Linked DNA regions of Homo sapiens: all the other regions are linked to region 2. Evidence: promoter capture Hi-C in 16 types of primary human blood cells and fetal thymus (Javierre and others, 2016). All regions are on one chromosome and are shown on one strand. Each heading gives the region's core, a stretch centred on a gene start or on the middle of the fragment in contact. The rest is flanking DNA. Distances are from core to core; before and after follow the strand shown. Region 1 overlaps RNPC3 (RNA binding region (RNP1, RRM) containing 3). Region 2 holds the start of LRRC40 (leucine rich repeat containing 40). Region 3 overlaps DNTTIP2 (deoxynucleotidyltransferase terminal interacting protein 2).

Evidence for each region. Contacts are between HindIII fragments. The CHiCAGO score rates a contact against its expected background, and 5 or more counts as called.
Region 1: a fragment that was not itself captured here is called in contact with the fragment with the promoter of LRRC40 in region 2 in 1 of 17 cell types (total CD8 T cells); the score reaches 7.0 in total CD8 T cells.
Region 3: a contact is called between a fragment that was not itself captured here and the fragment with the promoter of LRRC40 in region 2, in 1 of 17 cell types (non-activated CD4 T cells). The highest score is 6.4, in non-activated CD4 T cells.

What each region holds. Positions count from the first base shown.
Region 1 is chr1:103,528,737-103,532,975 of GRCh38, forward strand. The region is part of intron 2 of RNPC3 (RNA binding region (RNP1, RRM) containing 3); the gene reads left to right. Among named protein-coding and RNA genes, the nearest start is that of RNPC3, 5.2 kb to the left of the region's middle. The HindIII fragment of the contact is 1,946 bases long and covers 1,136-3,081 here.
Region 2 is chr1:70,202,925-70,207,362 of GRCh38, forward strand. LRRC40 (leucine rich repeat containing 40) reads right to left here and starts at 2,655. Exons shown (of 15, transcript NM_017768.5): 1 at 2,466-2,655. The coding sequence starts at 2,616. It also overlaps a transcript of SRSF11 not described here. RefSeq lists enhancers at 2,249-2,308, 2,569-2,878. The HindIII fragment of the contact is 8,465 bases long and covers 1-4,438 here.
Region 3 is chr1:93,871,918-93,876,114 of GRCh38, forward strand. DNTTIP2 (deoxynucleotidyltransferase terminal interacting protein 2) reads right to left here. Exons shown (of 7, transcript NM_014597.5): 3 at 3,728-3,866; 4 at 1,202-1,297; 5 at 155-319. Among named protein-coding and RNA genes, the nearest start is that of DNTTIP2, 5.2 kb to the right of the region's middle. The HindIII fragment of the contact is 7,821 bases long and covers 1-4,197 here.

The DNA of each region.
Region 1 (4,239 bases), core at 859-3,358, about 33 Mb after region 2:
TGTGAATAGATATGTTTGCCCAAAGGATAATAAGCTAGGAGAGAAGAATGGGAAGGAGCAGTTAAAGTAGGAGAACTAGAAAGGAAATTATCACTGATGCAAAGAGAAGTGTGTTTTAAGAAGATGAAATCCTGTGATGATGCAAAATGAGGAATGAACACATCTATTAAAGTCTTTTTGCCATGAAACAATAGAAATGACCCAAATTCTCATCGGTAAAAGGAAGGGAAGCCTTAAATCACATTATATCCATATACTGGACTGCAACTGTCTGAGAATGATGTCAAATGGTATGTGTTAATATGGAATGATAGCCCAGATAGAGTACATGAATAAAGTTGTGAAACATTATATATGATGTAACCTCAGATTTTTTGAAACTAATAGTATACATGTTAGCATATACACAGAAAAAATATGGCAGAACTATACACCAAAATGTTAAAAACATCTTTCTCTGAGAGTAGGATTACAGAGGGCTTTCATATTATATTAATATGTACTTTTATAATGGTAGGTAATTTTTTTTCAGAAAAAAAGTATTTTTAAAAATATATCATAATACATTGTAAATAAAGTATGGTAATGAAAAACGCATTGTTTTAGGGTCAAGAATAACTTGGAGGAGAGGACATGGAGCCAGTCATTGTCTTTGGAAATGTCTGTAGTGAAAGGAAGCAGTAAGAGGTTAACGGCAATATTGATAGGGCTTTTAGGCTAGAGAGCATTTGGCCTAATTGGAAAGTGATAGATTAAGAAAACAAAGGGAGAAATGTTCAAGAATAGAGTAAGTAGCCGAGTCAGGTAGGAGGAGTTAACATTAAAAATGAAAAACCATAAATCTTTGAAAATAAGAACATATGTGATACCCATTTGAGAAGAAGAAAGTTGGAGTAAGTCAGGTTAGATGACCTTCATTTCAGATAATCAAGGCTTCACTGATAATAAAGAGGTCTAAAGTTCATTTAGGGTCTTGAAAATTATTGAAACATTTTAAAATTAACTTTGTATGATGATGTAAGGCAGGGATCCTCAAACCCTGGGACACAGACTGGTACCCAGCCACGGCCTGGTACCTAACCACCACCTGTTAGAACCTGGGCCGCACAGCAGGAGGTGACTGGCAGGCTGAGGAAGCTTTATCTCTATTCAGGGCGACTCCGCCTGGCTGCCTGAGCTCCACCTCCAGTCAGATCAGCAGTGCCTTGGCCCCTGTTGTGAACTGCACATGCAAGGGATCTAGGTTGCGCTCTCAATGAGAATCTGACTAATGCCTTATGATCCGAGATGAATCAGTTTCATCTCGAAACCATCTTCTCCCCACCCCCCACCCCAGCCTGTGGAAAAATTGTCTTGCACAAAACCGGTCTCTGGTTAAGGCTTGTACTTTCATGTGTTCAAAAATATTAAGTACCTACTATGTGCTAGATGCTGATTTAGGTTTTGGGATTATATGTGAAGACAAAGATGATTATAGTTCATATTCTCAAAAGGGGAGACAGACAATAAATAATAAACTTTAATATTTTAGAAGATGATAAATGCTATGGAAAAAGGACAAGTAGAGCAATAAGATCAGGAGTGCTAAGTGGGGAGAGGTCAGGCTGTAGTTAGGGTTATATTTGAACAACAATTTGAAGGATGCGAAGGGAGTTAGCTAATGAAATTTCTGGGAGAAGTACCTTTGAATTAGAGGAACAGCTGGAACAGGGGCTCTAGGATGTGACCATGCCTGTCACGTTGTTCAAGGAAGCCACTGTGACTGGAGCAGACATAGTGGGAGTGATCTGTGGGAGCAGGAGTGGGAGTGATCATTGGATTTGAAGTCAGAGAAGTCATAGAATCTATATTATGTAGATTATAGTAAGGAACTTAGATTGCTGTCAGTAAAATAGGGAGCCATTGGAGCAAGGGGGTGACCTTGGTATTTCAAAGAATTGCTTTTGCTGTTGTGACTAGACTGAAGGGAGGGAAAGGTAGAAACAGGGAAATCCGTTAAAATATTGTGGTAATTCAGTCCAGAATTGATGGTTGCCTTGACCACAATGGTAGTGGTTAGCGGTGATTAGATTCTTTATATATTTTGAAGGTAGAAGCAAGGATTTCTTACTGTATTTATTCCAGTAGGTTTTGGGGGAACAGGTGGTGTTTAGTTACATGAATAAGTTCTTTAGTCGTGATTTCTGAGATTTTGATGTACCTGTCACCCAAGCAATATACACTGTGCCCATTGTGAAGTCTTTTATCCCTCACCCCCACTCCCAACACTTTCTCCTGAGTCCTCAAAGTCCATTGTATCATTCTTATGCCTTTGGGTCCTCATAGCTTAGCTCCTACTTAGGAGTGAGAACATACGATGTTTGGTTTTTGATTCCTGAGTTACTTCACTTAGAATAATGGTCTCCCATTCCATCTAGGTTGCTGCAAATGCCATTATTTTGTTCCTTTTTATGACTGAGTAGTATTCCATGTTATATATATATATACCATAATTTCTTTATCCACTCATTGATTGATGGGCATTTGGGCTGGTTCCGTATTTTTGCAATTGCAAATTGTGCTGCTATAAACGTGCATGTGCAACTGTCTTTTTTGTATAATGACTTATTGTCCTCTGGGTAGATACTCAGTAGTGGGATTGCTGGATGAAATGGTAGGTCTACTTTTAGTTCTTTAAGGAATCTCCACACTATTTTTCATACTTACTGTACTAGTTTACATTACCACCAGCAGTGTGAAAGTCACTTTCACCACATATTCTGCCAACATCTATTATGTTTTGATTTTTTCATTATGACCATTATTGCAGGAGTAAGGAGGTATTGCCTCATGATTTTGGTTTGCATTTCCATGATCATTAGTGATGTTGAGCAGTTTTTCATGTTTGTTGGCCATTTGTGTATCTTATTTTGAGAATTGTCTATTCATGTCCTTAGCCCATGGGATTGTTTTTTTTCTTGCTGATTTGTTTGGATTCCTTGTAGATTCTGGACATTAGTGGTTTTTTTGGATGTATAGATTGCAAATATTTTCTCCCGCTATGGGTTGTCTGTTTGTTGATTGTTTCTTTTGCTGTGCAGAAGCTTTTTAGTTTAATTAAGTCCCATCTATTTATCTTTGTTTTTGTTGCATTTGCTTTTGGGTTCTTGGTCATGACGTCTTTGCCTAAGCCAATGTCTAGAAGGGTTTTTCTGATGTTATCTTCTAGAATTTTTATGGTTTCAGGTCTTAGATTTAAGTCCTTGATCCATCTTGAGTTGATTTTTGTATAAGGTGAGAGATGAGGATCCAGTTTCATTCTTCTACATGCGACTTGCCAATTATCCCAGCACCATTTGTTGAATAAGGTGTCTTTTCCCTACTTTATGTTTTTGTTTGCTTTCTGGAAGATCAGTTTCCTGTAAGTATTTGGGTTTATTTCTGTGTTCTCTATTCTGTTCCATTGGTCTATGTGCCTATTTTTATACCAGTACCATGCTGTTTTGATGACTATGGCCTTATGGTATAGGCAAACAGGATTTCTTAATGACTTGGATATGGAATGTAGGAAAGAAGCATTAAGGATGATTACAAGATTTTTGACCTGAATAATTGGAAGAATGGAGTTGCTATCAACTGAAATAGAGATGGCTCCTGGTGGAGCACATTTGGGGCTGGGGGAAAGATTAAGTGAAATGTTGAATTTGAAATGTTTGTTAGATATCTATGGGGCGCTATCCATTATTTGAATATGTGTTCCTTGACTTCAGGACAGAAGTCTGTGCTGAAATTATAAATTAGTGAATCATTAGCATACAGATTTAAAGTTCGGATGCTGGATTAAATCACCAACATAATATGTTGAGAGAGAGAGGAAGACCAGGACAAGAGCTCTGGAGCATTCTAACATTAAGAACGTGAGAGAAGGCACAAGTCAAAGAGATGGAGGAGTACAAACCAGCGAGCTAGGAAGAAAACTAAGAATGTATGAAGTCTTGAAGCCAAGTGAATGACATGTATCCAGGAAGGAGTGATTAACTATGTTAAATGCAACCAAGTGAAGACTAGGAGTTGATCATTAGCCCAACAATGCAAAATTTGTTGTCTATGATAAGCAGTCTCAGTAAACTTATTAAAGCATTAACCTGATTGAAATAGGTTTGAAACTGAATAGGCAGAGAGGAGTTGTAGATAGAGGGTTTAGATAGCTTGTACAGAGTTTTACTGCAAAACTAATAATACAAATTTAGGATGGGAGAA
Region 2 (4,438 bases), core at 1,405-3,904:
CTCTTGCCCAAGCTGGAGTGCAATGGCACAATCACAGCACCCACTGCAGCCTCCAACTCAGGCTCAAGCAATCCTCCCACCTCAGCCTTCCAAGTAGCTAGGACTAAAGGCGCACGCCACCATGCTCATCTAATTCTTGTATTTTTTGTAGAGATGGGGTCTCACTATGTTGCCTCAGGCTGGTCTTGAATTTCTGGCCTCAAAGCGATCCTCCTGCCTCTCAATTTGCCAGAGTGCTGGGATTACAGGCATGAGCTACTATCATTATCAAAGTATAGGATACTGAAAAGAGGCCTCAAAGTAAATAGTTAAGGGAAAGGTTTAGAAAGACTTTTGTATGCTGTGCTAAAAAGTTTACCTATACCGTATCTTCTGGGCTATGGGAAGTCATTAAACGTTTTGAGTGATGTAAGATCTGTTTTGGAAAAATAACTCTTGGTAATGACACTAGGATTTAGAGTGTGAGGGTAGTTGTTGTTGTTGTTTATGGACAGGGTCTCACAATATTGTCCAAGCTAGAGTGCAGTGGCTATTCACAGGTGTGATCATAAGGCACTACAGCCTTAAACTCCTGGACTCAAGTGATCCTCCTGCCTCAGCCTCTGGAGTAGCAAGAGTGAGATGTAAAGTAAAAACTCCAGGAAACCAACTAGAAGGTGCTGCCATGATAACAGCAATGGTGAATTTTTACTGTGTACTTTTTATGTACCAGGCACTTTATTTCATTTTATCTCATTTAGACCTTAATAGGTCCTGTTATGACTCCTGCATAATAAATGAGAAATTAGGGCACAGAGTGATTAACCATCTCAATGTTATGTGAGCAAAGATAGGAAGATAAGAAGCACGACCCCGTAACGAACTACAAACAGTTCAGAATTATAGTGGTTTGCCTATCAAAGTTTCACTAACAAGTGATGAAACTGAGGGCTACATACAGCCAGACAGAGAAAGACTTTCTATATTATAGTAACAGGGATTCCTTTTTTATATATAAGCTACAAATACCATGAGTTTCTGCCATTTATATCTTTCCCTCCTATGAAATGCTGTTTATTCACTCATTTAAAATCATTTTATGTACCAGGTAAAGTGTTAGGTTCTGGTTATATAACAATAACCTAAGCAGTTCTAATCCATATCATCACGGACCTAAGAGTCAGAATCCATGTGCTCTCTTAAAGTTTAACAGACGAAACCACCTGAGTCTAGTCAATAAGTACATTCTAGCACACCACTTATGATTTGAGAATACTCATTCACTTACTTATTGCTTCCGCAAAATTTAATAAGACTCTACTATGTACCAAGCACTATTTTCAGTGATAGAAATACAACAAAGCACAAAACAAAGCTCACTGACTTCATGATATTAACCTTTTGGTTGGAGGGCAGAGAAAACAAAAAACATAAATGATATAAATTCTGATAGTGATAAATGCTGTTAAAAAATTAAACAGGTAAGAGAACAGAATGTTAGCATGATAGGTATGCAAGTTTAGAGAAAAATGTTTCAGGTTTTGGGGAAACCAAGTAGATATATATATATGCACAACTGTAGTTTGAAAATGAGTATGTTCCCATTGATCAAAAACTCTTTTAGGTGGAGTAAGGATTCTGTGTCTTTTCATTCATTCAGAAGCATTTGCTTGCCTAATCTACTTTATACATGTCACAATAAGAAAGCAATCATTAGAAGGAAAATGGAAGGTTTTAATCAGTCTTAAAACCTAAATATAAATGAAGAAAAACATTACAGGAAAAATGCTCTATTTCTCCATCTCTCCATTCCCCTCCCTCTCTCTCTTACACACACACACACACACACACACACACGACAATCAGAAGAGCATCTGGCCATTCATTCATGGTACCCAGATTTGTGCTTCTTGGTCTTTAACAGGTTTCTCAGGATGTCCCCACATTCAAACACTCTGTGTGGCATCTATCCTGATCTTCAACTTAGAAAATATACTCATTATTCCTTGTAAGTAGAACTCTGCACAGCTGCATACAGAAGAGCGTCTCGGCAGGGAACAGTGCAGGTTCACAAAGGGGCCGATAAAACATATAATTTTAGCTTTGGTAATTGCCCTTGAAGATTACAATAAGAGGAGGAAAATAAGGGCCAAAGAAACAAAAGATTTGCCCGTGATTTGATAGCTGGTTTCGTCACATATTATGTTGCTTATCCCACAGAATGTGGGAATCCCAGAAAGCGCCCCGTTTAAATTTAGACCGTATTTTTAGCAGGGTCCCTTTAACAGAGATTGCGGGAACCTGGGAAGGAACTGAACTGGGCTAACCAAACCGGTCGAAATGAGCACAGGGATTAGATTAGAGCACAGAAATTCTGGCTAGCAGTCTGAGAAAGGGGGCCAAAGCCAGCCCAGAGAAAAGGGAGGTTGCCTGGGCCAAAGGCTTTCTGACAGGAGACACAATAGGGTCGTACCTCTGGGTCTTACCTTCACTGAGGTTTCTACCCGACAGGTTTAACTGGCCGCTCTTCCTCGCTGCCTTCAACAGCCCTTGGGGTACCGAGGTACCGCAGTCTCTTCCACCTGCTTTGAAACCAGCGCGGAGATCCTGCCCCGCTATCCGCTTCAGGCGCGACATGTTCAAAGTCCTAGGTCCAGAAGCTGCAGCCCCACCCGTGACGCTTAAAGGTGGCGCCGTTGGGATGCCCCGCTCCTTTCGTGAGCGCGCGCTCTGGGCGCTGGGCTCGCGGCCTCGCGCTGGGCCTTCACTCTCTGCGGCGCAGTCCAGATGTCGTCAGCACCAGCGCCTGGGCTGGAGGACAGAGAAGCCTTTTCCGTTGCCGGTGCCGGCCTAGCGTCCTGGAATTACTTCAATCAAGTAAGTGCGTTTAACGGGCTTAAGAGGGGCTTTCGGGTTTATTGTTTGCACTGTTACTGCGACTCCAACCTTCTCCTCTGTGCTTCCACCGTGGCGAGGGTGTGGGGAAAGAGAACCCTCTCTTCTCCCCTCTCCTAGTCTGAACGTGGGCCTTGACTAAAACTTGAGATCTGGGCGCGGTCGGCAGCGTTTCTGGACCCCAGCCTGTGTTTGTCGCTTGTGGTGGTGGCGCCAGACCTCTGGCGTACGGAGTAAAAGAAATTTTCTGTTCTTAAGGCTTGTACTCTGACACCATTCTCGTTGTATTGAGGGTATATAGCTTACCCAGCAAAGGAGGTAATGTGAAATGGAAGGACTGGCAACATAGAAGACAAAAACAAAAATCCTTAAAATTTAATAAATGTTCTGTGTATCAGACAGTTTAGGGAGACAAGTAGTGGTACATGCTTTAGTGAAGCTCAGACAGCTTGGATTTTTGAGCCCTAAAAAGCAAGTTCAAATCTCAGCTGCTTCTTTACTTTAGAAACTGTTAACTTTAGGCAGTTTACTCAACCGCTTTTAAAGCTCATTCCTTTTTTTCATTACTTTGGGGATAATTCCTACCGCATAAGGTTTTTGAAATAAGTGAAGATAAAAACTAGAATCTTGAGCTCTCGGTGAGTCCAGAATAATAGCAAATGAAAATTTTGTTCAATGTAAGTCGGTGTTTCCTAGGAAATTAAAATTTTCATCTGAAATGTACAACTTCTTGATTCAACAAGTAATTATTAAGATTAATCCTGCCTAGTATGTGTACTATCCTGGGTGCTAGACTTTTCTTTTGCCTGAAATGATTTTGTTTTAAAAGCATATGCCAGGGAATACCATTCTAACCCCCATCAAGTCTACTGAGGATTGGTAGAATAGTTGAAAGCTAGGATGAAGGCCCTTTGATCAATTCTTCATCACGCACTTTTACCTGAGTCCAGGTTATTGCTACCTGTAAAATTCGGTTTTTAACTCTACCCTTTTTGTTCTTATTTCTGTGGAGTCCTTTACACTAATATCGAACAAGAGAAAGTTACCAATAGTTGTTACCCTACTAAAAAAGCAAAGAGTGGATTTTTGTCTTTTTTTTTTTTTTTTTTTTGAGACAAAGTCTGGTCTGTCGCCTAGGCTGGAATGCAGTGGCGTGATCCCGGCTCACTGCAACCTCCGCCTCCCAGGTTCAAGTGATTCTCCTGCCTCAGCCTCTCCAGTAGCTGGGATTATAGCCGCGCACCACCACACCTGGCTAATTTTTATATTTTTTAGTAGAGACGGAGTTTCGCCATGTTGGTCAGGCTGGTCTCGAACTCCCAGCCTCAAGCGATCCGCCCAGTTCGGCCTCCCAAAGTGCTGGGATTACAGGTGTCAGTCGCCGTGCCCAGCCTGAGTTTTAAAGGAAAACGACCGTAGCAGCTTTTGCAACGTTATTAATGAGGTCCCTGGTCAGCTTGTCTTCACAGTAATGGTAATAGCTGCCTTATTGGGCCCATACCAGGCTCAGTGCTAATAATACCTCTGTTTGCTATTTCTTATTTAACACAGTGACTAATTTTGC
Region 3 (4,197 bases), core at 1,637-4,136, about 24 Mb after region 2:
TGGCCATTCTTATATGGCCTATGCAGATATGTTCCATACATTAGGCATGCACAATGGAAATATCCTCTATTTTAGGAGTAAACTTTAAAGAACACTACAGTGCTTTCCAAACTAAAATTCACAGATCATCACCACTATTCTGTTTGCTTCATACCTGGAAGTACTTGGGGAAGCCATCTCTATCATTTTTCTTGTAAAATCTTTTCGGGTCCATGCTGGCTCTCATCTTCAGTGCTTTGAGATCATTTTTCAGTTCATTTGTCATTTCTGGAGCTTTCATACCAAACCAGCCATCCCCTGCTGTTTTTTGTCGTTCTTTCTGAAATTATGATTTCAAAAATAAACATTCTAACAGCTAAGAGTATACATTATAATTCATTTCCCCTGAAGTAACACATACAGAAAATTTTGTAAATTAAAAACAAATGGTTACTTTATTGAAAGCACTTAAATCCAGAATCATAGAGATAAAAGGAATTAAATCACAAAAAGTGACTTCTCCGCTAAATTAGGGACAGGATTATCAGTTTCATAAATGAGGGCTCCGTAAAATCTATTTTCTGTCTCAGAGAGTAACTGCTGACTTGCTGGGAGAATAACACACAACTTCAATTTTTATTGTCTAAAACAGACTATATGCAGTAAGAAAATGTATAAAAACACTTTCGTTTCTAGAGCTTATATGTAAACATTTTTATTCAGTCACCCAGGAGTCTCAGAATGCCACTCATACAAGGATCCAGAACCTTGTGTTATTTCTACAATAAAACAAAATACTATTCTTTAGAAAACTCCTACAAGTTATTTAATTTTGTTTCATTCATACAACAAGTATTTAGTTAGTGCCTACCATGTGCCAGGGTGCTCCATATTACAGTAACATTACTAGAATACCATCCTCAACTTTCCTTCAAGCTCTCTGGATAACTAGTCGAAATGGCAGATAGAAGTAATCTATATATATATATATTTTTTTAAAAAACCTCTACTTATAGATGCACTATTGTGGCTGCAAAGATGTGAAAATCTATACATAATGTGTTTATGGTACTATATTTTACAGCCCTTAGAAATCTGTAATTATTTTCTTTGGACTCATATATAGACCAACAGATACAGTTTAATTGTGCAGTTATGTTGTATAAGCTGAAAATATATAGCCAAACATATCTAAGCATTTTAATTAAGTCACTGTACTTACTCTGCGTTTTTTCTGAAGTTGATACTTTGATTCACTATATGGTGGAACACAGTGGTTTTTTTCAAAATCAGGTGTAATGACGGCTTTCTGCAGAAGCTATAAAAACATAAAATTGGTTTTAAAATAATGTCAGAATGTTATATAAGTTTTTCAACAGTTTAAACTTCTGTAAGTTTTAAAATTTTTAGTCAGCCTGGCAAAGTGGCTCACACCTATAATCCTAGTGCTTTGAGGAGGCCAAGGGAGGAGGATCACTTGAGGCCAGGAGTTTTAGACCACCTTGGTCAACATAGCAAGACCCTGACTGTAAAAAAAAAAAAAAAAAGAAAAGAAATTAGTTGGGCATGGTGGCACACACCTGTAGTCCCAGCTACTCAGGACGCTAAGGCAGAAGGATCACTTGAGGCCAGGAGCTTGAGGCTGCAGCAAGCTATGACTGTGCCACTCACTCCAGCCTGGGTGACAGAGTGAGACCCTGTCTCCCCCCAAACCCAGCTCCCTCCCAAAAAAAAAAAGAAAAAAGAAAAAAAAGGCCAGGCACGATGGCTCATGCCTATAATCCCAACTCTTTAGGAGGCCAAGGCAGGACAATCACTTGAGGCCAGGAGTTCAAGACTAGCCTGGGTAACATAAGAAAACGCCATTTCTCCAAAATAAATAAATAAATTTGTGCAGTCAAATCTGTTTATCTTTTCCTAAATGATTTCTGTACTTTTGTTACTTGACTAGGATGATTATATTCTCCTAAAACTCTGTGTGACTAAAGGAACCTCAGGTTAATTAGTATTTTTCTCAGTACAAGAACCAAGTAAGACTGCTCTGTAGCCCTCAAAATAGTTTACAGGAATATAGTACAAGCATTAATTTGGGACTGACATTTGAAATGATCAACTCAGAAATTAACAGTCAGGCACACAATTCAGGTTCAGGCCTAGATGTTTCTGTGTGGTATAGGTAGCCGTCTAGGCTTTCCTATCACTCATAAAAGGGGGCATGATATTTACTTAACAAATGATTAAGAGTTTGCTGTGAGTCAAGTACTGTAGTACATTCAAGGACAGTGGTTCTCAACTGGGAGCATCTGGCAATGTCTGGAGACATTTTTGGTGGTGGTGAGGATAAGGAAGAATGCTACTGACATCTAGTGGGCAAAAGATAGGGATGCTGTTAAACATCCTACTATGCACGGAACATCTCACAACAAAATTATGCAGCCCAAAACATCAGTAGTGCTGAGACTGAAAAACCCTGTTTTAGGAATATAAAGAAAAGATGGTAAGTTAATATATCACATGATCAACAATGAATCAGATCTATGCTAGATGTTATGGAAACAGAGGGGTTGTGAGAAGGACTGGAGGTAAAATATTCCCCAAGGGCAACGATCAATTATTTTGCACTTGCTTGGGGAAAAGCAGGGTAAGTTCAGGCAACTACAGTAGTCTTCAGTGGCAAGAATAGAGCAGATGACAGCTGGGTGGGGTAGAGAGGTACTTTGAAGGATTCAAGAGAATACTGTCACATCTGTGTGTGTGGTGTGTTTTTTGGGGCAGGGAGGAGAGATGTGGTCTAGCTATGTTGCCCAGGTTGGTCTCAAACTCCTGGGCTTAAACAATTCTCCTGCCTCAGCCTCCCAAAGTGCTGGGATTATAGATGTGAGCTACCTTGCCCAGCCGGATTTGTGTTTTTAGACAGAGAAATCTAGAAGTGTGGAGGATGGCTTGAAGAACAAGATGAAAACAAGATCAATAAGGAAGCCACTGGAGTAGTCCAGATGAGAAGCAAAGGCCTGCACTAGCTGGTGACAGTCGCTTGAAAAGGAGGAAGCAGAGAAATATCTTCCCCTAGAGGCTTGGTGACTGACTACAAAAGGAAAAGAGAGTTTGGTTTCATTAGCCAGAAAAAAGAATACAAGAAGAGGATTCCTGGTTCAGGCAGGGAAAGGGGAATTAGTGACGTCAAGTACCTGAGGACATCTAAATGAACAAATAGGTACTTGGATTTAAAGGTCTGAAAGTGACAGTGAGAAGCATCAAGGCTAGAAAATATAGATTTAGGAGAAAACAGTGCAAGGTGTTGGCTAAAGCTAAGGGTTTGGGTAAAGTTACCTTAACAGTAATTCCTTCTGAAATTATATGTAAAATGTCTATATGCACATGTGCATTTTTTTCCGGGTGGAAGAGGCAGGCAGGCATTCACAGCTTTCAGATTCTCAACAGTCTACACTAGTTAAGAACTTAAGAACTAAAAGTATAGCAAGAAAAGGGAAAAAAACAAAACCCCTGGGATCATAATTGGTGGGTGTAAGATGAGGAACACTGACCCTGTATTGATTTATTTTTAAAGCATTATCATTCATAGATAGGATTTTATTGTAAAAAGAAATGACTGTTTTAGAGAGAAGGAAAAAACTAACACATTAGGCCAATGTGGTTTCACTGTAGGAAAATTAAGTCTTTTACCAAGGACTAATTTCTAAAAGTGATTGGTTAGTTCTGTGAAAACCTAACAGCACAATTAACTTACCTCATTTTTCTTTTTCTCCTTGATCTGTGTTAGGGTTCTCTTGTTAGACTGTAGTTTATCTGCATTAAAATTAATATACAAACCACCCAACTGCTTGATACTCAGACCAGGGTCTATGCTGCTGCTTGTCAACTTCAGACTGAAAAAGAAATCATCACTTAAAGATCAAGTAATTAAATCAAAATGGAAACATATAAGATGGCATTTTAAAAAATCACTTATTCTTCTCTTCCCTTGTATTGTCCACAATAAAGAAAAAAAAGCATCTTATTTTTATGAGGAATTCCTGAAAAAAAACTCTAAATAAATATATTTTTCATCATTTTATTTTATTTTTTGAGACAGGGTCTCACTGTTGGCCCAGGATGGAGTGCAGTAGTGACCACTGCAGCCTTGAACTCTTGGGACTCAAGTGATCCTCCTACCTCAACCTCCCTGGGTGGCTGGGACTACAGGTGCACACCCAACAC